Regions from separate parts of the Homo sapiens genome. Here region 1 is linked to region 2. The links are contacts of gene promoters, found by promoter capture Hi-C in blood cells and fetal thymus (Javierre and others, 2016). All regions are on one chromosome and are shown on one strand. The core of a region is centred on a gene start or on the middle of the fragment in contact, and the rest is flanking DNA. Distances in the headings are between cores, read along the strand shown. Region 1 overlaps LOC105378419 (a long non-coding RNA gene). Region 2 holds the start of IFIT5 (interferon induced protein with tetratricopeptide repeats 5).

Region 1 (6,969 bases), core at 4,153-6,652, 120 kb after region 2:
TTGGTATCATTTAAAGTCCTCTCTTCTAGTTACTTTAAAATATACATAATATTGTTGCTAAGTATAGTCACCCTAGTCGGCTATCAAACATTAGAACTTATTTTTTTTATTTAACGGCATGTTTGTACCCATAACCTAACTCTCATCTTCCCACCACCCCCCTTCCCAGTCTCTGGTATCTATTATTCTATTCTCAATGTCCATGAGATAAAGTTTTTTAGCTCCCACATTTCAGTAAGAACATGCAGTATTTGTCATTCTGTGCCTGGCTTATTGCATTTAACATAATGGTCTCCAGTTCCAACTACATTGCTGCAAATTACATGATTTCATTCCTCTTTAATGGCTGAATAATATCCCATTGTGTATATATACAATATTTTCTTTATCCATTTGTTCACTGATGAGCACCTATGTTGATTTCATATCTTTGCTATTATGAATAGTGGTGTGATGAACATGTGAGTGCAGGTATCCTTTTGATTTACTGATTTATTTTCCTTTGGATAGACATCCAGTAGTGTGATTGCTGGGTCTTATGAAAATTCTATTTTTAGTTTTTTGAGAGCTTTCCATACTGTTTTCCATAATGACTGTACTAATTTACATTCCTACCAACAGTGTATAAGAGTTCCCTTTCCCCTGCATCCTTGCCAGCATTTGTTATTTTTTTTTTTAATAATAGCCATACTAACTGGGGTGAGATGATATCTCATTGTGATTTTTATTTGCATTTCCTTGGGGTTGAGTGATGTTGAGTATTTTTTCATATGCCTGTTGGTCACATATACCAGAGCTCCTTTATAGGTGATGAGATGCTTTTCCTTTGCTGTCTTTAAAATTTTCTTTTTGTCACTGACTTTAGATAGTTTGACTATAATGCGCCATGGAGAAGAACGTTTTTCACTGTATCTGATTGGGGATTGCTGGGCCTCCTGTATCTGGATGTCTAAATCTCTTACTAGACTTGGGAAGTTCTCATCTATTATTTCATTACATAGGTTTTCAAACCCTTTCAGTTTCCCTTCGCCTTTGGAGATACTGATAATTCATATATTTGGTCACCTTATGGTGTCCCATAGATCGTGAAGACTTTGTTCATACTTTTTAATTCTTTTTTTTTCTTTATTTTCGTCTTATTGGATTATTTCAAAAGACCTGTCTTCAAGTTCTGATGTTTTCTCTTCTGCTTGGTCTAGTCTACTGTTGAAGCTTCTTGTATATTTTGTATTTCATTCAAGGAATTCTTCAGTTCCAGAATTTCAGTTTGGTTATTTTTATGATACCTATTTCTTTGGCAAATTTCTCATTCATATCCTGAATTGTTTCTCCGATTTCTGTGTATTGTTTGAATTGTATTGGATTTGGAAATCTCTTGTATCTTGCTGAGCTTCTTTAGTATTTTTTATATATACATATATATTATTTTTTTATTTTTTATTTTTTTGAGATGGAGTCTCACTCTGTTGCCTAGGCTGGAGTGCAGTGGTGCGATCTCTGCTCACTGCAACCTCTGCCTCCCTGGTTCAAGTGATTCTCCTTCCTCAGCCTCTCGAGCTGGGATTACAGGCATGTACCACCGTGCCTGGCTAATTTTTGTATTTTTAGTAGAGATGGGTTTTCACTATGTTGGCCAGGCTGGTCTGGAACTCCTGACCTCAGGTGATCCACCCTCCTTGTCCTCCCTAAGTGCTGGGATTACAGGTGTGAGGCACTGTGCTTAGTATAATTTTGAATAGTTTTTCCTGGATTTCTTTTTGATTGGGATCTGTTGCTGGGGAATTGTATTCCTTTGAAGGTATCATATTTCCTTGCTTTTACATGCTTCCTGTGTCCTTTCACTGATATCTGAGCATCTAATATAATAGTCACTTCTTTCAATTTTTGAATTTGCTTTTGTAGGGGAGGACTTTTTCCTGAAGATATATCAACAATATTGGTTGAGTAAGGCACTTCAACTTTGATTCTGAGTGTGCATGGTAGTGTAGCCTCTGTACAATTTATTTGGCTGTGATCAGTGATATATATGATTTCCTTGATGGTTTAGGGTGGGGTTTATTCTTGGAGGCTATCGTGACATTTTACTGGGAACAGGGTTGCCATGTGGGCCAGTCTTCAGGCCCCAGTGGTGGCAGCAGTGGGTTGAGGATGTCTGATCTTCGGCCCCAGAACAACATACACTGGCACTGGTGTTAGTGGGACCAGGTAGGCTAATTCCTGGGCCCCCAGATAGCTTGCTCAGATGCTGATAGTGGCAGCAGTGGGCCAGGTGGGTGAGTGGGTTCTCAAGTCCCTGGGCAGCTGATGTGATCTGGGCAATGGCAGTAGCCAACGGTGGGACAAACCCTTGGGTTCTGATAAGTGTACACTGATGTTGGCAGTGGCTGTGGTGCAGGGTTGCCACCTATACCACAGACACACAGCTCTCAGGCTCTTTCATTCTCTGTAATAGCAACCCCGCAGCACTGTGCAGAGAGAGGAGAGACGCTGTTCTTTAGGTGTGAGCCTAGGCACAGAGGCCATGCGTCCAGTGGGGGTGCAGTCACCACTCACAGCACCAGACAGGCGGCCATCTGGCTTCCCTGCCCCAGCCTCTGGTAGTAGCATCAGTGGCTGTGCCTGCAGCAGTGTGTAGAGGACAAGAAGGGGCTCTGCTCTCTACATGTAAGCCCAAGCACACAGCCTGCTTCACTAGTGGGAGAGTATCTCACTATCCACTTGTGAGGCCGAGTACAGAGTTTGTGGTGCTGCTAAGGGTAGGGTCACTTCTCACAGCCCCAAACAGGAGGCTCTGGAAAGGACATGTTTTAGTTTCCTTTGTATCAGGGGCTGTCTTTTTGGCACATTGCACCATTCTTTCCCTGGGGAGTAGTACTCCCTGTGGGCTGGGGTGCTGCGGACACTGTATTACCTTTGGGTCTAGCCAGTGCTGTGTCACTGTAGCCCACTGGGTGGATACTGGGAAATATCACTGGGGGCTCCTGGGATATGGAGATATGGGAGCTGCGGTTCCCAGGATAGGATGTAATTCCATGACTATAGTCTCACAATGGTGCCGCTTAGGTCTTGGGGGAGCTGAGAGACCCAGCGTGAGTTCCCTGTCTCATGAAATACCCTTGTGGGGTCTCCAAATCACCACCCATACTGGTGTCAGAGTTTGTATGGGTAGAGAAACTCTCTCATGTTTCAGATTGCAGCAGTTTGCAGGAGGGATGTGGACTGCTGAAGTTCTCTCATTTGACCTTTCCCTGAAATGCCAAGGCCCTCTGTTATCCTGGCCAATCTCAGCCAAGCTGGCCACTTGATACCTTCTTCTTCTGCGCCTTGGGTGTTTCCCATGACTTCTCTGTTGAATTCTAGTGTTGTCTCCTAGATGTTCTATTCGAGGTATAATTATCTATTCATAATTTTGGTTCTTCTTTCTAGAGAGGGTGGGTGTCTGATGTCTCTAGTCAGCCATCCTGAACCAGAATCCCCACCATATTTTAAATCCCTGCTTGTTGCCCTGGTATTTGACATCCCCAAATCACAATGTACAGCCATAGTGTTTTGTAATGATAGAAGAAATGTATTTTCCTTATTCATACCCTTAGTCACAAAGGGGGTAATCATGTATATAGGCCCAAAAGAAAATAATAGTACCTCAAAGATTGAGGTCAGAAAATTACACAAAGCACAGATAGAACACATTCTCCAGCAAAACTGAGGTTGTTAAGGTAGGTTATTCAGTCTTGGGAAAAGTTATTTACCATAATTTTTTTTCTGCCTAGGGCAGGGAGGAAAAAGAAACTATCCTTCCTAAAAAGTCTCCACCCTTTGATTAGGATGCACAGCTAAGCCTGTCCCAGTTGGAAACCCTTACTTTTGTGTCTTACGCAAGAGTTTCAAGTTCCTTTTCTGTTTACAAGTTCTTCTTCTTCTTCTTTTTTTTTTTTTTTTTGAGACAGTCTCGCTCTGTTGCCAAAGCTAGACTACAGTGGTGAGATCTTGGCTCTCTGCAACCTCTGCCTACCGGGTTCAAGCAGTTCTCGTGCCTCACCCTCCCAAGTAGCTGGCTACTTGGCCCAGCTACCAGGCCCAGCTGATTTTTGTATTTTTAGTAGAGATGGGGTATTGCCATGTTGGCCAGTCTGGTCATGAACTTCTGGCCTTAAGGGATCTGCCCGCCTTGGGAAGCACTCCCAAAGTGCTAGGATTACAGGCATGAGCCACAGTGCCTGGCTTCTATTTACAAGTTCTATTAGGTACTTACAGAAATGTATGTTAGGTTTTTAAGAAATGCTGAAATAGGAAAGTGGAAATGCTGTGGGTTTGGTTTGATTTATTTTTTGAACTCAGTATTCAAGAAAACTATTGGATAGGAATTTTAAAATCTTGTGAATAAAGGTACTGGTTGGGGAGAAGCATAGAGAAAGGTTTTGCCATGGTCACTGTGCTTTGAAATGGTTGAGATACTGATTTACACTTCAGAAATTTGTATGGCTAGTGCCTGTATATAATGTTACCACAGCAGGTATGCATCAGCTGATTTAGTAGCTGGGTTAGTGTGAGACTATGCATGCAATGTGATTGCAAAATAGCAACTGAAAAGGAAAACCAACTTTCTCCTGGTGTTATTTCTATTTTGAGAAAATGAAACTTATTAGAAAGAGTTCTGCCTAACCTCGTTGCTACAAATATATATGTGTCTTTTTCCTGGAATATAGGCCCTGTTCATATTTCCTAGAACAATAGATTTCATTTATATAGAATATAGATTTGCTTCCTGTTCCTGGAATGGGTTACATCAACTACAGATGGTATAATGCAATAATTCTCATATTGCTACTTGCCACCAGCAATATCAGCATCACCTGGAAGTGCAAATTCTTAGGCCCCATTCTAGACTGATAGAATCAGAAATTCCAGTGTGGGACCCAGAAATCTAGGTGTTGATAAGCCTTCCAGATAATTATAATGGATGCTAAAGTCTGAGAACCAAATAATATATTGAATGTAAGCAAAAATACTTTTACTTCTATAAAATGAAACTCTATGCTTTTTCCTTGAGATTTTTTAAAAAATTTGACCCTCTTTTTTGTTTTGAGTCTATTTTTAACTGAAGTTTTGTCCACCTAGAAGAGCTGGTGACTGTTCAATAGTATTCGCACTTGTTAGAGGAATACTTAGGTAGCCCAGTGGGTTCTCTTGATCCCCACAATGGGCTGTAATTTGAAAACAATGTGTTCCCACCTATATGACATTCCCTTCTGTACTCATTCACAAATACACGTTTAAAATGGTCTTCCACATGAACTTCAAAAATATTGATATAGTTAATAAAATAGCTCCCCATTCTTTTTTCCTTTCCATTCCTTTCCTTTCCTTTCCTTTCCTTTCCTTTCCTTTCCTTTCCTTTCCTTTCCTTTCATTTCATTTCCTTTCCTTTCTTCCTTTTTTTCTTTTTTCTTTTCAGACAGAGTCTTGCTCTGTCACCCAGGCTGGAGTGCAGTGGCGCAATCAGAGCTCACTGTCGCCTTGACCTCCCTCCCAGGCTCAAGTGATCTTCCCACCTCAGTCTCCTGAGTAGCTGGGATCACAGATGAGTGCCACTACACCCAGCTAATTTTTTATTTCTTGTAGAGATAGGGTCTCACTATGTTTCCCAGGCTGCTCTCAAACTCCTGGGATCAACTGATCTTCCTGCTTCAGCATCCCAAAGTGCTGGGATTACAGGCATAAGCCACAGCACTTGGCCAGCTCCCCATTCTTATTCTTTTTTCAAAAATTAATTAAACACCATTTCTTCTTGCTGTGGTTTGAATATGTCCTCCAAAGTTCATGTGTTGGAAACTTGATCCCCAATGTGGCAGTGTTGGGAGGTGGGACCTAATGGGAGGTATTTGGGTTATGGGGGCATTGTCCTCTTGAATAGATTAATGCCATTATTGAGGGACGGAGTTCCATATAAAAGGATGACTTCAACCTTCTCTTGCTCACCCTCACCCCCTATTTACCCTTCCATCATGGGATGACCCAGTAAGAGGGCCCTGGCCAGATGTGGCCCCTTGATCTTGGACTTTCCAGCCTCCAGAACCATGTGTCCATAAATGTCTGTTCATTATAAATTACCCAATCTCCCAATCTGCCCATCTGTGGTATTCTGTTATAGCAGAAAAAAATGGACTAAGACATTTTTCAGCATTAATTTTTTAGACTGCAGTTGGGCAGTCTTTGAGTGGAAACTTGATGCGGGTAAATGACTTTATCTTTCCATAGTCCTATTCAGAAATAAGACCATGCTAAATAAACTTCTGCTGGGACAATTTGTACACTTATCCCTGTTAGAACACTAGGAGTATTTGTTTCATTCATTCATTCACCATTCGTTCATCAAATCAATACTTACTGAGAATCTACTATGTGCCAGGCACCATTCTAGGCTCTTAAGATACATCAGTACACAAAGATCTCTGTCTTCATGGAGCTTATATTCTATCAGGAAGAGATGGCAATAAACAACTGCTTTGGACTGAATTGAGTTCCCAACTCCTTTCCCAAAATTCATCATTGAAGCCCTAACCCTCAACGTAACTTTGTTTGGAGATAGGGCCTGTGAGGAGGTATTTAAGGTTAAATGAGGTCTTAAGGGTGGGGCCCCTAATCTGGTAACCCCTAATCTGGTAACACTGACGTCTTCATACAAACAAGAAGAAAAAGAAGAGACCTCAGATATCTCTCTCTCTCTCTCTCTCTCTCTCTCTCTCTCTCATCTCACACAGAGGAAAGGCCATGTGAAGATAAAGAAAAGGCTGCCATCTCCAGGTCAGGAAGAGAGGTCTCACCAGAAACCAACTTGGACTTCTAGCATCTAGAACTGTGAGAAAATAGATTTCTGTTGCTTAAGCCACCTAGTCTGTGATTTTTCATTATGGCAGCCAATGTAGACTAATACAATAATAAATAAATTAGACAATATGGGACAAGTCC
Region 2 (6,933 bases), core at 1,564-4,063:
TCACATAGGCCAATAGGTTATAAAGAGCAAGTCTAGATTTTGTGGTAAGAAATTCAAGCTGTTGCCCAATTGTATCTTCTACCTCAAACAGATCAATGTCTTCCTTAAGTAAATTCCATGTAAAATGACATTCTAACTCCAACAGAATGGCCTTCAAGGTGTCCTTACGAATTTCACTGTCAAAGATAAAATACTTTTTAATTTTTGAAGAAATACAAGAAATAATTTTCTAAACCTTAAATATTGTTCTTTGCATAACAACTAATTTTATCCCTATTTGATCTTACAGTTAAAACATAAGTTTCCCATAACTTTATACTAGAGTTTCTTCTATATACAGTTATGTCCTAGAAATATTTCATTTAAATTCTCACTATTTATTGCAAAAACAGTTCTGGAGAGATGACAGAGCTTTCTGTATTACATGTATCTATTTCCTTTTGGCAATCACTAAACCATTGAAAATTAGGAATGAATATATACATATTCAATAATTAATATGAAAATTCCATTTTTGTATTATGAGTACTGATCCTGACTAGGAAACCTGGTAAAATTGCTCCTTGGTAATTGTTCCTTTCTCTAGTGTAATTGTACCAAAAATATGGGCAAGACATGCCATGTCCTTACAGCCTGCTTAAATCCACAACAACATGGCTTTACCAGCCCCCTGCCTAAAACAAACACCTGTTTTGAAGGTCTCTACCAGCCCAGCCCAAGGAGGATGAGGAGGGCTGCTCAGGTATTATGGATTTGGTTGTAAGATCTCAAAGGGACATTCAATCAGGTACTGACGTGGTTTGTCCAGGCTCTGGAATTTATGCACAACTGGACACCATGAGAATTTTTATTGTTTAAACTTTGTCTACTTAATTTTGTAACTTTGTCTTTGGGAAGCTAATAAGAGAGAAGCTATTGCATCAGAAGAGGTAACACGTATCTTTCGGTAATTCTGTTCTTCTGCTAGGAAGAAGCAGACTTTCATTGTCCTTGGGAGACAGTCCCCAATGGGGCTGAGCCCTTTTCCTCCCCATCCTGCATATATACGGTGCACGCCACCGTCTTTTTCTGTTTTTTGTTGTTGTTGTTGTTTTGTTGTTGTTGTTGTTGTCAAGCCCCTTCCTGATAGCACTCTCCTTTCTTACAAATGTTAGATGTGGCCAGGCGTTGTGGCTCACGCCTGTAATCCCAGCACTTTGGGAGGCTGAGGCGGGTGGACCACGAGGTCAGGAATTCGAGACCAGCCCGGTCAACATGGTGAAACCCGCGTCTCTACTAAAGATACAAAAAATTAGCCAGGCGTGGTGGCACACGCCTGTAATCCCAGCTACACGGGAAGCTGAGGCAGGGGAATGGCTTGAACCCGGGAGGCGGAGGTTGCAGTGAGCCGAGATGGAGCCATTACACTACAGCCTGGGTGACAGGGCGAGACTCCGTCTCAAAAATAAAGTTAGATGTGTGGGTGGCACTTAAACTTTTTTTTTAAACTTATAATGGGAATAATTAACATTTATTGTGCAAGTATTATGTGCTAAGCAGTCAACTGATAGGATTTATTACTGTCCTTTTCCACAGTCCCAAGAGATGGACACCATTAATTTTTACAAATAAGGAACAGACTCACAGAGTTTGAGAAACTTTGGGATCACTCAACTAGTAGGAGTTCAGTCCGGATTTAGAACAAGGGACTATCTGCTTTTAGAGCCCAAGACCTTAACATCTCATTCCTCAACTCATTAAATGCGGAAGGTTCACTAACCACGTGCAGGGCGGGGTGCTAGCCCCTGGGGATACAAAATGATCAAGAAAAGGACGCCATCATACTAAATCAGTAAAGGAAACAGATAAAGAAATCCTCATAAAACAGCGGATTGGGTGGGACGATAACAATCTGTGCTTGGTACAGAGGTAGCTCCTGGGAAGGGAAGAACTCAGACCCAGAAATCAGAAACGCAAACTGGCAGTGGCAGGCGAACCTGACGCCTGCAGGGCTGCGGCGAAACCGCGTATGCCACACCGAGGGAATGGCAGCTGGAAAGAGAGGCACGCGACAGGCCTAAGGAGACCCGTGGCACGTAGCAGCTGCCCCCGGAACAGCGCCTGGGGGCTCTGCAGGCGCTGACCAGTTTCCCGGAGGCGGCGGCCGCGGACCCAGCACGGTCACCGTCGCCGCTGCCGAGAAGAGCCGTCGGGTCGCGATGGGTGGACAGGCCTTCCGGGGGAGCGTCGCCCGGCACATACCCTGACAGTCCCGACCGCAGACGCCAGGGATGGGACAGGCTCCCGGGGAGCATCTCCTGTTCCTCCTCCCTGACCGGCCTTCTTAGGCGCTGGGGAGGGGCCGGACTCCCGAGAAGCGTCCACTCGGCCACCCTCCCCGGCAGGCCCGACTTCAGACGCCGCGCGCCGGGACAGAGCGCCCGGGGAGGGTCCCCAACGCAGATGCCCGGTTGCTGGGCGCGAGGGGCTCGGCCCCTGAAAAGGCCGCAGAACTGCGCTGGAAATGAATAAAAGCAGCCCGGTTTGAAACCAAGGCCGACGCAGGGCTTGGGAGGAGAGGCAAAGGAAAACCCTTACCTCATGATGGCAGCGCTCTGCAGGCCGTCCGGGCGGCGCAGTCCCTCGGATCGCTCTCTCCTCAGCACCGGGGACCGCGGGAAGCCGCGCGGTGGGCGTGCGCGTGCGCGTGCGCGCGCCAGGCCTCTGCAGCCCCTGGACTCGGCCGCGCGGCGTGTCTTTGTTAAAGGAGAGACCCCAGCCCCAGCAAGAACAGGAAACTGGAGATTGAATCAGATGCCGAGCGCTCAGAAACTGAAACTTAAGAAATCGAAACTAAACGTAAGCTTCAGAAACCGAAACTTAATAGAAGAGCTCAAGAGCCGCGGCCAGACGTTTGCGGAGTCCAGGGTCTTTCGGAGTTGAATTTGCAGCTGGGCTCCTTCACTTTGGTCTCGGCTTTTATCTGCCTCCCTGAGTACGCTGAGTTCGCATGCTGCCCGTGTAACTGTTTGTTTGTTTGTTTGTTTGTTTGAGATAGCGTCTCACTGTGTCACCCAGTCGTGATCTCAAGGGATGCGCCCGCCTCTGCCTCCCAAGGTGCTGGGATTACAGGCGGAAACTTAAGTCCCTGCTTCCACTCCAGTCTTTTGATTCAACAAGCAACACTGCAATGCTATACATCTATGCTGTTATTTCTGTTGGGTGTAAACTGAGAAATTTGGAGCTAAAATCTATATACATTTTAAGTTTTGACGGATATTGCCAAATAGCTTTAAAAATCCACTCTTACCCACAATTGTAGGAGACTGCTTCTCTTCCATACCTTCGCCAATGGTGCTTTGTAATAAGGACCCAATAAAGACAAGAGTGGTATTGGGGATCTAGGCAGAAAATGTCAAACACCCATACCTTAAACATTTTGTCCCCTTTGAATTCATTCAGCAAATATTGACAAACAACTGTAAGAGCCAGACTTTGTTCAAAGTACTGTCAATATAACAATAAAGAAAACAGACACGGGCCTTACCCTTATTGAGTTAATGTCTGTATTCAAAACCTCAATATCCTGTCCATAATTCATCTTTTGCATTGATTTTGGTTTTTTTTTTTTTTTTGAGACAGGGTCTCACTCTGTCACTCAGGTTGGAGTGCAGTGGTGAGATGACAGCTCACTGCAGCCTCAACCTTCATGGCTCAAGCGATCCTCCCACCTCAGCCTCCTGAGTGGCTGGGACTATATGCGTGCACCACTATGTCGGGCTAATTAATTTATTTTTTGTAGAGGCGGGGTTTTGCCATGTTGCCCAGGCTGGTCTCCAACACCTGGGCACAAATATTTTTCTAAACCTTAAATATTGTTCCGCCCATCGTGGCCTCCCAAAATGCTGGGATTACAGGCATGAGCCACTATGCTTGGCCTGATTTTGAATTTTTAAAAACATATTGCATTGAAATATTGTCTACCTTGATCACTGAGCTTCTGGCACCCCACCCCTCAAAACTTAGTGCCTGAAGCGAGTGCCTCATTTAAAGCAATCACTTCTAACAGTTGTACTGTCTTATACAGAAACTGCTGGTCACCTGTGGCTATTAAGAACCTGATTTTTAATTTAATATAAATTTAAAAACTGATAAGTTAATAGAAAACTTACATTTGGAATAACTTAGGTATACGAATCTGCTTTTTATAAGTTGCAAATTTTATGAACTCTAAATACAGAGCAAGTATTTCCAGTGATTATCCTCAGCAAACTAATGCAGGAACAGAAACCAAACACTGCATGTTCTCACTTGTAAGTGGGAGCTAAATGATGAGAACACACGGACACAGTGGGGAACAACACACACTGGGGCTTGTTGGAGTTGGGGGTGGTGGGAGGGAGAGCATCAAGAAGTATAGCTAAGTGATGCTGAGCTTAATACGTAGGTGATGGTGTGTCCGGAATTGGTTCCTTCCAGTAGGTTTTTGGTCTTGGTGACTTCAAGAATGAAGCTGCGGACTCTCGCTGTGAGTGCTACAGTTGTTAAAGATGGCGTGTCTGGAGTTTGTTCCTTTCGATGTTCAGATGTGTCTGGAGTTTCTTCCTTCTGGTGAGTTCGTGGTCTTGCTGACTTCAGGAGTGCAGCTGCAGACCTTCACAGTGAGTGTTACAGATCTTAAAGGTGGCGCGTCCGGAGTTGTTCGTTCCTCCCGGTGGGTTCGTGGTTTCACTGACTTCAGGAGTAAAGCCGTAGACCTTTGTGGTGAGTGTTACAGCTCATAAAGGCAGTGTGGACCCAAAGAGTGAGCAGCAGCAAGATTCGTTGCGAAGAGCGAAAGAACAAAACTTCCACGACGTGGAAGCAGACCCGAGCAGGTTGCCGCTGCTGGCTGGGGTGGCCTGCTTTTATTCCCTTATTTGGCTCCACCCATATCCTGCTGATTGGTCCATTTTACAGAGAGCTGATTGGTCCACTTTACAAAGTGCTGATTGGTCCATTTTACAGAGTGCTGATTGGTCCATTTTACAGAGTGCTGATTGGTCCATTTTGACAGAGTGCTGATTGGTGCGTTTACAAACTTTTAGCTACACACAGAGTGCTGATTGGTGCGTTTACAATCCTTTAGCTAGACAGAAAAGTTCTCTGAGTCCCCACCTGACCCAGAAGCCCAGCCAGCTTCACCTCTCAATCCCCCCTCTAAACAGGACACCCCAATTGCTGATGGGAATTTGGCTGATGACTGCTCTAGCTACTTTCTGCTGGATAGGGGCGAAGAAGGGGCCCTGTAGGTGTAGTGTCCTCCAGAGGGGAACTCTTTAGGCCAGTGGAAGGGCCAGCAGGTCAGTCCAGGGGTCCTCGGTAGAAGTTGTTAGTTGAACTCATTTGGGGTTCCATTTGTAAGACCATCTGTAGCTTGAGGGCCTCAATTCTAGAGGAAACAAATTTGACAAGAAGGTTAAAAACACAGGGCCCAAAGACAAGTAACAGCAAGATGGCTGCCACAGGACCTAGAAAGGGGAGAAGCCATGTTGCCCAACTCCAGAGGTTGGTATAAGAGTTTGAAAGGTGTTGTCTGATTTCAGAAGCCTTTTCCTGTAAACACCGGGTGGCATCTCGTGCTATCCCTGACTGGTTAGTGTAAAAACAACACTCTTCCCCTAAGAAGCTGCACAGTCCTCCTTTCTCAGCAGTGAGGAGGTCTAGGCCTTGGCGATTTTGGAGAGTCGCTGCTGCCAAAGAGTCTGTTTGGGATTGTAGAGTAAGGATAGATTTCATTATTTCATGCAAACTGTCTGAGAAATCCTTTGAGAGTGTATGGTAGTAGGATAATGCATGTTACACTGTTAACTTTTAGCAAACTTTACGTTAGTTGAAAACCTTGTAAGTTTGGGATTTCAATTATTCTTTGCTATTAGTAAGACCTCGTTCAGTCCATATTAACTTAGAATTGGTATAGATGGCTCCTTCCTGATTCTGTAAGTATTTTAAGGTTTGGCTGAGTGCAAACAGCTGACACATTTGAGCAGACCAATTATTAGGCAATTTTCCTAACACTGCTTCTACAAGAGTTTCCTTATTATTTACTGAATACCCATTGTGTTTTTTTTTTCCTTAATTGCCCAGGAGGAACCATCTATCCGTCCTGTCCTGAAGGGAGTTCCTCCTAGATCTGGTCAGACCTTTGTATGGGAATTAATTAAGATTTAGATCCCCTGTTAGGAAACCTGCTGGGTAAGGATTTTTGATAGGAAGGCTACTGGTTGTCAGTGGCCTCAGTGCTTTCAGGCTACGCCCTTGTTTACACTGACAGCAAGGTGGTATTGGAGTGTTATAGGGTTTCTGAGAAGACCTTCAGTTATCAATTATAGGTTTTAAATTTACCCTGGCTTTTAAAGGAATAGGGTACACTGTTTTTTCTTTACTACTTCTATCTCTCTCTTTGACTTCTTCGTCTCTCTCTTCCTCTCTCTGTCTCTCTCTCTCTGACTTTCTGTCTCTTTCTTGCTTTCCTTTCTGCTGGTGTTTCCCTGCCTCTGCCAGTGGCTTATGCTGCTGTTCTTCCCTCTCCTTCACCTTTTGATGGCTTCAGCAGTGTAAGACTGCCACCTCCTTGGGTTTTTGCACCGCGTGCAATAACTCCGTGGTTTCCCTGTGTTATTTAATGGGGGTTCCCCCAGAGGTTAGGAACTCCCTTTCTTTCCATATTGCAGCATGGGCATGTAGGATTAGATAAGCATGGTTGCTCTCTGTATACACATTTATTGCTTTTTCCTTTCCCAGTTCTAAGGCTCGGGTAAGTGCCACTAGTTCTCCTAACTGGGTGCTGGTCCCTGGGGGAAGAGGCTTACTTTCAAGTATGGTTACATCGCTAAATATGGCATAATCTGTCCTTTGTATCCCATTCTCCATAAATGAACTTCCATCGGTATATAGGTTAAGGTCAGGATTAGC

Evidence for each region. The method cuts DNA at HindIII sites, captures the fragments that hold promoters and counts their contacts. A CHiCAGO score of 5 or more calls a contact.
Region 1: a fragment that was not itself captured here is called in contact with the fragment with the promoter of IFIT5 in region 2 in 11 of 17 cell types (neutrophils, naive CD4 T cells, total CD8 T cells and 8 more); the score reaches 9.5 in neutrophils.

The regions. Positions count from the first base shown.
Region 1 is chr10:89,293,461-89,300,429 of GRCh38, reverse strand. It overlaps LOC105378419 (a long non-coding RNA gene), which reads left to right. Exons shown (of 3, transcript NR_188200.1): 2 at 6,762-6,858. It also overlaps a transcript of LIPA not described here. Among named protein-coding and RNA genes, the nearest start is that of IFIT2, 5.1 kb to the left of the region's middle. The HindIII fragment of the contact is 8,375 bases long and covers 1,215-6,969 here.
Region 2 is chr10:89,410,448-89,417,380 of GRCh38, reverse strand. IFIT5 (interferon induced protein with tetratricopeptide repeats 5) reads right to left here and starts at 2,813. Exons shown (of 2, transcript NM_012420.3): 1 at 2,578-2,813; 2 at 1-176. The coding sequence starts at 2,582. It also overlaps a transcript of LIPA not described here. RefSeq lists enhancers at 1,767-1,836, 1,937-2,036, 2,647-2,956. The HindIII fragment of the contact is 3,334 bases long and covers 1-2,845 here.